2 separate regions of the Homo sapiens genome follow, and region 2 is linked to region 1. Evidence: promoter capture Hi-C in human tissues and cell types (Jung and others, 2019). All regions are on one chromosome and are shown on one strand. The core of a region is centred on a gene start or on the middle of the fragment in contact, and the rest is flanking DNA. Distances in the headings are between cores, read along the strand shown.

Region 1 (6,190 bases), core at 3,615-6,114:
TCCTCTTCTGCAAAGTGGGTATTATAATGTTAGCCACGCAGGGATGACGAAGGAAGTGCAGTTGACCCTTGAACAACACGAGTTTGAACTGTACGGATGTACTCAGGCGTGGATTTTTTTCCACCCCTGCCACCCCTGAGACAGCAAGACCAAGCCCTCCTTCTGTTCTTCCTCCTTCTCCTTCTCCTTAGCCTGCTCAAGGTGAAGACGACAAGGATGAACACTTTTGTGATGATCCACTTCCACTTCATCCATAGTAAATATGTTTTCTCTTCCTTTGAAGTTTGGACGGGCACAGTGGCTCACTCCTGTAATCCCAGCACTTTAGAGGCCAAGACGGGTGGATCACCTGAGGCCAGGAGTTCAAGACCAGCCTAGCCAACATGGCAAAACCCTGCCTCTACTAAAAATACAAAAATTAGCCAGGCGTGGTGGTGGGCGCCTGTAATCCCAGCTACTCAGAGGCTGAGGCAGGAGAATCGCTTGAACCCAGGAGGCAGAGGTTGCAGTGAGTTGAGGTCATGCCACTGCACTCCAGCCTGGGCAACAGAGTGAGACTCCATCTCAAATAATGAAACAAACAAACAAAAAACAAAACAAAAACAAAACACCAGAATTTTTTTAGTGACATTTGCTTTTCTCTAGCTTACTTATTGCAAGAATACAGTATATAATACATAGAATGTAGAAAATCAGTGTTCATCGACCATTTATGTCATCAATAAGGCTTTTGGTCAATAGTAGGTGTTACATGCAGTCAAAAGTTACATGCAGATTTTTGACTGTAGGGGTGAGCTTGGCACTCCTAACCCCTGTGTTGGTTCTAAGGTTGACTACACAGAAATCCCCTAGCCCTGGGCTCGTGGTTACTCAATGCATAAGGATAATCACGATTTTTTTTTTTTTTTTTAAAACAGGGTCTTGCTCTGTCACCCAGGCTGGAGTGCAGTGGTGCAGTCATAGCTCACTGCAGCCTCAACCTCTTGGGCTCAAGTGATCCTCCCACCTCAGCCTGCCCAGTAGCTGGGACTACAGGCATGCACCACCAAGTCTGGTGAATTTTTATTTTTTGTAGATATGGGATCTCACTATATTGTCCAGGCTGGTCTCGAACTCCTGGGCTCAAGCAATCCACCTGCCTCAGCCTCCCAAAATGCTGGGATTACAGGCGTCAGCCAACATTCCCAGCCACTATTTTTTTTTTTTTTTGAGACAGTCTTGCTCTGTCCCCCAGGCTGGAGTGCAGTGGTGTGATCTCAGCTCACTGCAACTTCCGCCTCCTGGGTTCGAGCAATTCTCCTGCTTCTGCCTCCCAAGTAGCTGGGATTACAGGCATGCACCACCACGCCTGGCTAATTTTTTTTTTTTTTTGTATTTTTAGTAGAGATGGGATTTCACCATGTTGGCCAGGCTGGTCTCAAACTCTGGGCCTCAAGTGATCATCCCGCCTGGGCCTCCCAAAGTGCTGGGAGTGTGCCCGGCCCCAGCCACTATTTTTTAAGAGTACAAAATTGAAGCATATTCTGATAGGGAATTTAAAACACTCACTAAAGTAGGCAGAATAGTATAATGAACCGCAGCCCACCCTAACCACCATCACCCCCTACTCAACCTCGCCAACCCCGCCCCCATCCCATTTGCCTTCCTGTCAGGTATTATTTTGAAGCAAATCTCAGCTATCTTATCATTCCATAAATATTTTGTTATATGTCTCTAAAACATACACACTCTTTTTTTTTTTTTTTTGAGACAGGGTCTCACTCTGTTGCCCAAGCTGGAGCACAGTGGCGTGATCACGACTCATTGCAGCCTCAACTTCCCAGGTTCAAGTGATCCTTCCACCTCAGAGTAGCAGGGACCACTGGCACATGCACCATGTCTAGTTAATTTTTTAATTTTTTGTAAAAATGGAGTCTCAATATGTTGGCCAGTCTGGTCTTGAACTCCTGAGCTTAAGTGATCCTCCTGCCTTGGCCTCCCAAACTGCTGGGATAACAGGCATGAGGCACTGCACCTGGCCCAGACTCTTTAAAAGCCTAACCAGTCTGGGCATGGTGGCTCATGCCTGTAATCCCAGCACTTTGGGAGGCCGAGGCGGGTGCATCACCTGAGGTCAGGAGTTCCAGACCAGCCTGGACAACATGGTGAAACCCCGTCTCTACTAAAAATACAAAATATTAGCCAGGTGTGGTGGCAGGTGCCTCTAATCCCAGCTACTCGGGAGGGTGAGACAGGAGAATTGCTTGAACGTGGGAGGCGGAGGTTGCAGTAAGCCAAGATCATGCCATTGCACTCCAGCCTGGATGACAAGAGCAAAACTGTCTCGAAAACAAAAACAAAAATAAAAACAAAAACCTCACCGCAATACCATTGTCACACTGCAAAAACTTTGCCAATAATTTTTTAATATCTGTAGATTCCAGTTTAGCCAATAACTGTGGAGTTTTGGAATCATATCCGAATTTGGCTGTTAGCTCACTTCCTTGCCAAGGAAACTTGGGAAATTGTTTAACTTCTTTGAAGCCTATTTTCTTTCTTCTTCTTTTTTTTTTTAAACGCAGTCTCACTTTGTCACCCAGGCTGGAGTGCAATGGCGTGATCTCGGCTCACTGCAACCTCCGCCTTCCGGGTTCATGCGATTCTCCTGCCTCAGCCTCTCGAGTAGCTGGGATTACAGGTGCTCACCACCACGCCCAGCTAATTTTTGTATTTTTAGTAGAGACAGGGTTTCATCACGTTGGTCTGGAAGCCTGTTTTCATCATCAATGAACTGGGATAGTAAATTGAAGCCCCCAGATTGCTTGGAGTATTGGAGACAGTATGTTTCCTAAAATTTCAGCCCCTAAAACTTCTTTTCTTTTCTTTTTCTTTTTTTGTTTTAAAGAGACAGGGTTTTGCTCTGTTGCCCAGGCTAGAGTGCAGTGAGGCAATCATATCTCACTGCAGCCTTGACTTTCTGGGCTCAAGTAATCCTCCCACCTCAACCTCCCGAGTAGTTGGGACTACAGGCACACACCACCACGCCCAGCTAATTTTTTGTTATTGTTGTTGTTGTAGAGATGAGGGTCTCACTATGTTGCCCAGGCTGGTCTTGAACTCCTGGCCTTGAGTGATCCTCCCACCTTGGCTTCCCCAGTAGCTGGGACTACAGGAGCATGCCACTGTGCCTGGCAGCACCTGAAACTTCTTTTTTTTTTTTTTTTGTGAGATGGAGTGTAGTGTGGCTCTGTCGTCCAGGCTGGAGTGCAATGGCGTAATCTCTGCTCACTGCAACCTCTGCCTCCCAGGTTTAAGTGATCCTCCTGCCTCAGCCTCCCAAGTAGCTGGGATTACAGGCACCTGCCACCATGCCTGGCTAATTTTTGTTTTTAGTAGAGATGGGGTCTCACCATATTGGCCAAGCTGGTCTCAAATTCCTGACCTCAGGTGATTTGCCCACCTCGGCCTCCCAAAGTGCTGGGATTACAGGCATGAGCCACCGCGCCTGACCAAGTATCTGAAACTTCTATCCCTGAAAATATAGTAACACTATTATTATTACTTTTTCTTTGAGATGGAGGCTTGCTCTGTCGCCCAGGCTGGAGTGCAGTGGCGCAATCTCGGCTCACTGCAAGCTCCACCTCCCAGGTTCATGCCATTCTCCTGCCTCAGCTTCCTGAGTAGCTGGGACTACAGGTGCAAACCACCACGCCCAGCTAATTTTTTGTTTTTTGTTTTTTGTTTTTTATGTAGAGACAGGGTTTCACCATGTTAGCCAGGATGGTCTTGATCTCCTGACCTCGTGATCTGCCTGCCTTGGCCTCCCAAAGTGCTGGGATTACTGGCGTGAGCCACCATGCCTGGGTGACTTGTGAGTTTTTGAGACAAAGTCTCGCTCTGTCACCCAGGCTGGAGTGCAGTGGTGCGATCTCGGCTCACTGCAAGCTCCACCTCCCGGGTTCATGCCATTCTCCTGCCTCAGCTTCCTGAGTAGCTGGGACTACAGGTGCAAACCACCACGCCCAGCTAATTTTTTGTTTTGTTTTGTTTTGTTTTTTTTGTAGAGACGGGGTTTCACCGTGTTAGCCAGGATGGTCTTGATCTCCTGACCTCGTGATCTGCCTGCCTTGGCCTCCCAAAGTGCTGGGATTACTAGCGTGAGCCACCATGCCCGGGTGATTTGTGAGTTTTTGAGACAAAGTCTTGCTCTGTCGCCCAGGCTGCAGTGCAGTGGCAGGATCTCGGCTCATTGCAACCTCCAACTCCCAGGTTCAAACAATTCTTGTGCCTCAGCCTCCCAAGTAGCTGGGATTACAGGCATGCGTCACCACGCCCAGCTAATTTTTCTATTTTTAGTAGAGATAGGGGTCTCACCATATTGGCCAGTCTGGTCTTGAATGCCTGACCTCAGGTGATCCGCCTGCCTCGGCCTCCCAAAGTGCTGGGATTACAGGCATGAGCCACCGTGCCCGGTCTTGGAGTTTTAATGGTAATTAATCATGGCTAACATCTCACGGGCCCTTCCTGTGATGTAGGTGTAGTGTTAGTCTCACTCTCTATATAAATGCTTTTCATTGTCTCACCAACACAGGAAGTTAGTGAGAAAATTCAAGTGCAGAGTAGTGAAGCGTCACAGGCAAGGGACTTCACCTTTCTGCATCTTGTTTTCTTCATCTGTGAAACAGGATCATAATGTCTGTCTCTTGGGGTAATAATGTGGACTGCTAATGCCAAATGCCAACCAACTGCACCTCCTAGACTGTCAGCAAATGGCATCTTTTACGAGGAGCCGTATCAGCCTGGCACACAATAGTTAACCACTAAGTCTGGGCTGAATGCCCGGCTAAGCTGGTGCCCTAGTGCAAACAATCGCTTTCATTATCCCAGTTGCTGGGAGAATTGGGCAAGGAGAGACCCATAAAATACCTAAGACGAAAGTTACTAGGATAGCCAGGGGCTTGTCTTCCGGGTGGCGCCGAGGCCAGGAAACTGTCCTCTCTAACCTATTTCCCCAGAGGAGTCTAAATTGGTCGTTCAACTACCAGCAAAGGCTAAAGAGAGGCTGGAGCCCCCAGGACAGCCAGAACGCTGACACTGCAAAGGGCCTCTGTCCTTACTGGGGAAGCCCAGTCCTGCTCAGCTGTCTTCTTCAGCAACAAACAGAAGTCCAGAAAGAGAAACAGTTGTGGAGGAAGCTGTTGTGATGATAATTTACTGAGCACCTACTATGTGCCAGGCACGCCAGCCTTACCAGACAAGATCCTTGGGCTCATGGAATTCACTTTCTCGTGGGACAGACAAACAATAACATGTAGAAACATATCAGCTGTTGGTGAGTACCATGCAGAAAATTAAAATAAGGCGATGGCATTGGGAGTGACTTAAGGGGTCACTACGCAATGGGATGGTCAGAGACAGCCTCTCAGGAGGAGGTAGCATTGAAGCTAAAATGTGAACAACATGAACAGATGCAGCATAGAGCACTAAAGTACAGGACGTGCAAAGGCCCTGAGGTTGAAATAAGCTAAATGCATTAGACTAGGGGGTTCTCGAGTAAGGGGAATTCTGCCCCCTAGGGGACATTGCAATGTCTAGGGAGACTTTTTTTTTTTTGAGACGGAGTCTCGCTCTGTCACTAGGCTGGAGTGCAGTGGCGTGATCTCAGTTACTGCAAGCTCTGCCTCCCAGGTTCACACCATTCTCCTGCCTCAGCCTCCTGAGTAGCTGGGACTACAGGTGTCCGCCACATGCCCGGCTAATTTTTTGTATTTTTAGTAGAGACGGGGTTTCACCGTGTTAGCCAGGATGGTCTCGATCTCCTGACCTCATGATCTGCCCTCCTCGGCTTCCCAAAGTGCTGGGATTACAGGCGTGAGCCACCGCACCTGGCCGAGACTTTTTCTTTTTGAGATGGAGCCTTGCTCTGTTGCCCAGGCTGGAGCGCAGTGGCACGATCTCGGCTCACTGCAACCTCTGCTTCCCGGGTTCAAGCGATTCTCCTGCCTCAGGCTTCCGAGTAGCTGGGATTACAGGTACATGCCACCGCGCCAGCTAATTTTTGTATTTTTAGTAGAGATGGGGTTTCGCCATGTTGGCCAGGCTGGTCTCGAACTCCTGGCCTCAAGTAATCTGCCTGTTTTGGCCTCTCAAAGTGCTGGGATTAGAGGTGTGAGCCACTGCACCCAGCCTAGGGATACTTTTTAATTGTGAC
Region 2 (6,190 bases), core at 1,704-4,203, 52 kb after region 1:
CACAGAAGTTTCACAGAAAAGTGAAAACTCAAAGGAGTGTTTAGACCTGGGGCCTTAAATACCATGTTAACAAAGAGCAATAAATTGTGAGCTGAATTCACAAAGGAAGGGGGAGTATTCAAGATGCTTAAGTCTCTGTATCCAAAGTGCTTCCCCATGGATGTGAATAGGATGTTAAAAAGGATGACCAGTGGCCTGTGATTCCTATGCAGAGCTTCTAATCCTGGCCCTGCAAACCATCCTTGAACTATCTGCTTCTCTTTATTCTCCTGGCCATCAGCCCAGGGCCAGTGCTGCTGTCTCTCCTCCAGACAGCATCCTCGGAGGTCTGCCTACTTTGGATTCATTCTTACCCTTTGGTTTATTTTCCATACAGCACTCAGAAGAATCTTGAAAGCCCAAAACGGCCGGGGTGGCTCAAGCCTGTTATCTCGGCACTTTGGGAGGCTGAGGCAGGTGGATCACTTGATGCCAGGTGTTCAAGAGACAGGGAACAAAAGCTGGGAAAATTGCCTTATAAAACCATCAGATGGCCAGGTGTGGTGGCTCATGCCTATAATCCCAGCACTTCGGGAGGCTGAGGCAGGCAGATCACTTGAGGTCAGGAGTTTGAGACCAGCCTGGCCAACAGGGTGAAACCCCATCTCTACTAAAAATGCAAAAATTAGCCAGGCACGGTAGCACGCACCTGTAATCCCAGTTACTCGGGAGGCTGAGGCAGGAGAATTGCTTGAACCCAGCAGGCAGAGGTTGCAGTGAGCCGGGATCACACCACTGCACTCCAGCCTTGGCGACAGAGCAAAATTCCATTAAAAAAAAAAAAGAGCCCAAATCTCACTAAGTATCTCTATTGAATCTTCTAGATGGTTCTCCCATTGTCCTTGGGATAATGACCTTTCCAGTACTGTAGCCTACATGGCTGTGTATGACTCACTCTCCTGGGAGATGCTTGTCTCCATCCTTACTGCCCCAGACAGTGATGGAAACATCCAAGCTTGCGTGCCGGGGGCCCTGGGCTGGGACTCGCCTCCCCCAGCCCTTCTGTGGCAACTTTGGAGCTCAGCTAAATGCGATTCCTCAGAGAAGCCTTGTCTGGCCACCACTGAAGCTTAACTTCTCTATGTCTCCCCGATCCTTGCCTCTGAATTTTCTATCACTGCACCCTGTTTTCCATCTGTCTTGGCTCTTTTTCTTTTTTCTTTTTTTAGAGACAAAGTCTTGCCCTGTTGTCCAGGCTGGAGTGCAATGGCATGATCATAGCGCACAGCACCTTCAAACTCCTGGGCTCCAGTGGTCCTCTCACCTCAGCCTCCCAAGTAGCTGGGACCACAGGTGCACACCACCACCCCTGGCTTGTCTTTGCCTTTAATTATGATTTCTCTTGGTTTTCTTTTGCATCATCTGTCTGCCACATCAGACTCTGAGCTCCATAAGGCCAATGGCATCATCTGTTTTCTCCCTGCCAAATTTTTACCTTTAACACATTGATATGGTTTGGCTGTGTCCCCACCCAGCTATCATCTTGAATTGTATTTCCCATAATCCCCACACATTGAGGGAGGGACCAGGTGGAGATAATCGAATCATGGAGGTGTTTTCCTCCATGCTGTTCTCCTGATACTGAGTAAGCTCTCAAGAGATCTGATGGGGCTTTTTAAAATAAGGGGCTTCCCCCTTTGCTCAGCTCTCATTCTTCTCTCTCCTCCCGCCTTGTGAAGAAGGGCGTGTTTGCTTCCCCTTCCACCGTGATTGTAAGTTTCCTGAGGCCTCCCCAGCCCTGCAGAACTGTAGGTCAATTAAACCTCTTTCCTTTATAAATTACCCAGTTTCAGGTATGTCTTTATTAGCAGCATGAGAACAGACAAATACACACAGAGACCACAAATTTTGAGCCCCACCGTGTCCATTGAAATCTTGGCGCTGCCACTTCTTGGCAGTGTGACCTTGCAAACCCTTTACCATCCCTCCCCCTGCCCCACAGCCCTCAGTTTTCCCATCTGCAGAATAGGGATGCTGAGTGACCATCCCACCTAGGGCTGCTGGGAAGAGTACGCGCATCAGTTCACACAGAACCTCCACCCGTGTTGCCATCGAGGGTCCTGTTACTGTCATATGATAGCATTGTTGACATGAATAGCCTAGGATGAGCTATTTCTGCCCTGAAACCCTATTTTTGTCATCTGCAAAATGTGCAATTGAACTAAAATGTGTCCAGAACTCCACCCAATGTGAAGATGCTGGTGCCTGCAATCATTTATGCCTTTCTTATGCATTCACACAACCCCTACTGATTATCTGCCATAGCCCCAGCTCCCACAGGGACCTAAATATAGTTAATGTTTGTCTCAGCCTTTAAGAGAGGGAGATGGGGCCGAGTGCGGGGGTTCACGCTTCTAATCCCAGCACTTTGGGAGGCCCAGACAGAAGGATTGCTAGAGGGCAGGAGTTCAAGACCATCCTGGGCAACATAGCGAGACCCTATCTCTGTAAAAAAAAATTAATTAGTTAAAAATAGATAGATGGCTGGGCACAGTGGCTCACGCCTGTAACCCCAATACTTTGAGAAGCCGAGGCAGGCAGATTGCTTGAGGCCAGGAGTTTGAGACCAGCCTTGGTGACAGTGAAACCCCATCTCTACTAAAAATACAAAAATTAGCCGGGTGTGGTGGTGCATGCCTGTAATCCCAGCTTCTTGGGAGGCTGAGGCACGAAAATTGCTTGAACCCGGGAGGCAGATGTTGCGGTGAGCCGAGATCACGCCACCGCACTCCAACTTGCACGACAGAGCAAGACTCTGTCTCAAAATACACAAATAAATAAAGAGAAGGAGATGGAACAGCATACCAAACAACTGGAATTTAAGGCAACTGGAAAGAAAAATAACGCGAGAGGCGCTCGCCAGGAGTTGTAAACCTTGATGGAGCAACTTCCCAGGAAAACAGCCTTGGGCATGACTTCCCATTTTAAGGAAGATTTAAAAGCCCAGATCTCTCAGCAAGTTCCCTGCAAAGCCCCTTGATTGACAACCTGTGGCTCCCCCAGCACAAGGAGGAGGTGTAGGAACAAATGTTATCACCAGAGGGCGCTGCTGGACAACCATGTGCTCTCCGTACATCCAAGCACGCTGGCGAATGGGGACCATTCAACATAACATCCTAAATGATCCAACGCGATCACGAGTCCTTTTTTTTTTTTTTTTTTGAGAAGGAGCCTCGCTCTGTCACCCAACTTCTGCCTCCTGGGTTCCAGCGATTCTCCTGTCTCAGCCTCCCGAGTAGCTGGGATTACAGGCCTGCGCGCCACCATGCTCGGCTAATTTTTCTTAATAGCCCATTTTTTAATAGAACGGTTTTAGGTTCACAGCAAAATTGAGTGAAAGGTACAAAGATTTCCAATATATCCCTCCTCTGATCCTACTTTTATTGAAAAGGTTGAGTCTGAGCACAGTGGCTCACGCCTATAATTCCAGAGCTTTGAGGGGTCGAGGAAGGAGGATATCTTGAGCCCAGAAGTTTGAGACCAGCCTGGGCAACATAACGAGACCCCGTCTCTACAAAAAATAAAAAACTAACGAGGCGTGGTGACGTGCATCTGCAGTCCCAGCTAATATAGAGGCTGTGGCCGGAAGATCGCTTGAGCCCAGGAGTTTGAGGCTGCAGTGAGCTGCGATCGTGCCACTGCACTCCAGCCTGGGTGACAGAGTAAGACCCTGTCTCTAAAAAAATAAATAGCCAGGCGCGGTGGCTCATGCCTGTAATCCCAGCACTTTAGGAGGCCGAGGCAGGTGGATCACTTGAGGTCAGCCCAGCCAACATGGTGAAACCCCGTTTCCACTAGACACACAAAAATTAGTTGGGCCTGGTGGCGGGCACCTGTAGTCCCAGCTATTAGGGAGGCTGAGGCAGGAGAATCGCTTGAACCTGGGAGGTGCAGGTTGCAGTGAGCCAAGATCGCACCATTGCACTCCAACCTAGGTGACAGGCTAAAATTCCATCTCAAAAATAAATAAATAAAATAAAATAAAACAAACAAATAAATTAGCTGAGTGTGGTGGCGCATGCCTGTAGTCCCTAGTATTTGGGAGGCTGAGATGGGAGGATTGCTTGAGCCCAGAAGTTTGAGGCTGCAGTTAGCTTTGATCATGCCACTGCACTCCAGCCGGGACAACAGAGTGTGATAAAAGAGGAAGGAAGAAAGGAAGGGAGAGAGGGAGAGAAGAAGGGAGGGAGGAAGGAAAGGGAAGCATTCTAGGCAACCTGGGCAAAGGCTGGAGACTGGAAACAGCTGGGTGCCTCTGAAGCAAGGGTAAGTGTGTCTGGAGAGCAGAGAAGGAGACAGGAGCGGACAGCAGAGGCCAGTAGCTGAGGTATTGTGTCTTCTTTTGTTCTGGAGCCCCTGCAGGGAGCAGAGACTCAATTGGCAGGGAGGGTAGAGGGGGCTCAATCCAGGCAACTTAGTCTACATCCCTTTGTTGCAGAGAGGAGCCTCCTGTACACAGAACTGCTGGCCAGACTCCATTTCTTCGCCACCTCACATCCAGCACTGGTGGGACAGCTATGCCAACAGGCCCAGAGCTGGTTCCAGTTGTGCGCACACCCTGTGCTGGTGCCCCTCGGAGGATTCCTCCAGCCCCCGGGAGGACCCCTCCGGGCAACTCTCAGCGGCTGTCACAAAGGTGAGTCTCCCCAGCATAGCAAAAATCCCAGCAGGCACCTGCTTGCCTGGGGGCAGTGAAGGCCAGGTGTTTGAGGTTGTCCTCTGGGACTCCCCTGTGCTAGTTGGGAGGCCCCAAGCTTGCCATCAGAGCCTGCCCCTGCTGTCTCATGCTGAATCAGCTCTCTCTGCCCCACCTCAAGGGACTGTAGATGTCTCATATAAATTCTTCTAATGAGCCCGATGCTAGGGGGTGCCTCCAAGCTTCCCATCTCCAAGGGATTGGTGCCCATCTGACAGTTTCAGCTATTTACAAGCTCATGCTAGTAATTCTGAAAGCTAGGAACTGATGCCTGACAGTCCTCTGAGAAGCTGAAGGAACTGTAAGCAGCCCTTGGAATCCCAGAATGTAAGGGAGAGGAGAGGATTTAGGTTTTGCCATCCATTTGTCATTCATTTTTTTCTTCCTTCCATTCATCCAACCATCTATGCATCCATCCTTTCATTCACCTTCCTACTCTTCCATCCAATTACCCTCCCATCCATTCATTCATCTCTCTATCTACCTCCCACCCTTCCATTCATCTATCCATCCATCCACCAGCCTCCCACCCACCCATCCATTCATCCATCCATCTATCCATCCATCCATCCATCCATCCATCCATCCATCCATTAATTCACCTTCCTACTCTTCCATCCAATTACCCTCCCATCCATTCATCCATCTATCTACACTCCCACCCTTCCATTCATCTATCCATCCATCCATCCACCGTCCTCCCACCCACCCATCCATTCATCCACCCATCTTCTCTGCCACCCTTCCATCCATCTACTGCCCCATCCATCCATCCATCCATCCACCTTCCCACTCTCCCATCCATCTATCCTCCCACCCTTCCATCCATCTATCCATCCATTCACTCATCCACCCACCCATTCATACATCAGTTGTCCATTCATCCAATCATCTACCCACCCTTCCATTTATCCATCAATTCATCTATCAAACCACTTTCCTCTCCATCCATCCATCCATCCATCCTCCCACCCATCCACCCATCCATCTACCCACCCTGCTACCTTTCCATCCATCTATCCCCCATCTCTAAATCCATCTACCCTCCCACTCTTTCATTCATCTACTGTTCCACTGTTCCATCCATCCACCCATCCACCCATCCATCCATCTATCCATCTACCCTACCACTGTTTCATTTATCTAGCCCCATTCATCCATCCACCCATCCGTTATTCATCGATTCATCAAATCATTTACTCACCTTTTCATTAATCTATCCATCCATCCATTCATCAAATCACCTTCCCATCCTTTCATCCGTCCATCCACCCACCCTTCCATCCACTCACCCACCTACACACCTTTCCTTCCATCCATCCACTCACCCATCCATTCATCCATTCATTCATCCTTCAACCCTTTCTTTCTTCCTTCCTTCCTCTCTTCTATCCACCCATCAGTCATCCACCCCTCTACCCACTTATCCTTCCATTTTCTTCATCTGATCATCTT

What was found. Contacts are between HindIII fragments. The study calls those that stand out against the background at their distance.
Region 2: a contact is called between a fragment that was not itself captured here and the fragment with the promoter of NWD1 in region 1, in 5 of the 25 tissues and cell types used here (adrenal gland, aorta, mesenchymal stem cells and 2 more).

Annotation. Positions count from the first base shown.
Region 1 is chr19:16,714,983-16,721,172 of GRCh38, forward strand. It overlaps NWD1 (NACHT and WD repeat domain containing 1), which reads left to right and starts at 4,865. Exons shown (of 19, transcript NM_001007525.5): 1 at 4,865-5,311. The HindIII fragment of the contact is 25,691 bases long and covers 1-6,190 here.
Region 2 is chr19:16,768,649-16,774,838 of GRCh38, forward strand. NWD1 (NACHT and WD repeat domain containing 1) reads left to right here. Exons shown (of 19, transcript NM_001007525.5): 11 at 4,478-4,675. Among named protein-coding and RNA genes, the nearest start is that of NWD1, 52 kb to the left of the region's middle. The HindIII fragment of the contact is 3,804 bases long and covers 1,052-4,855 here.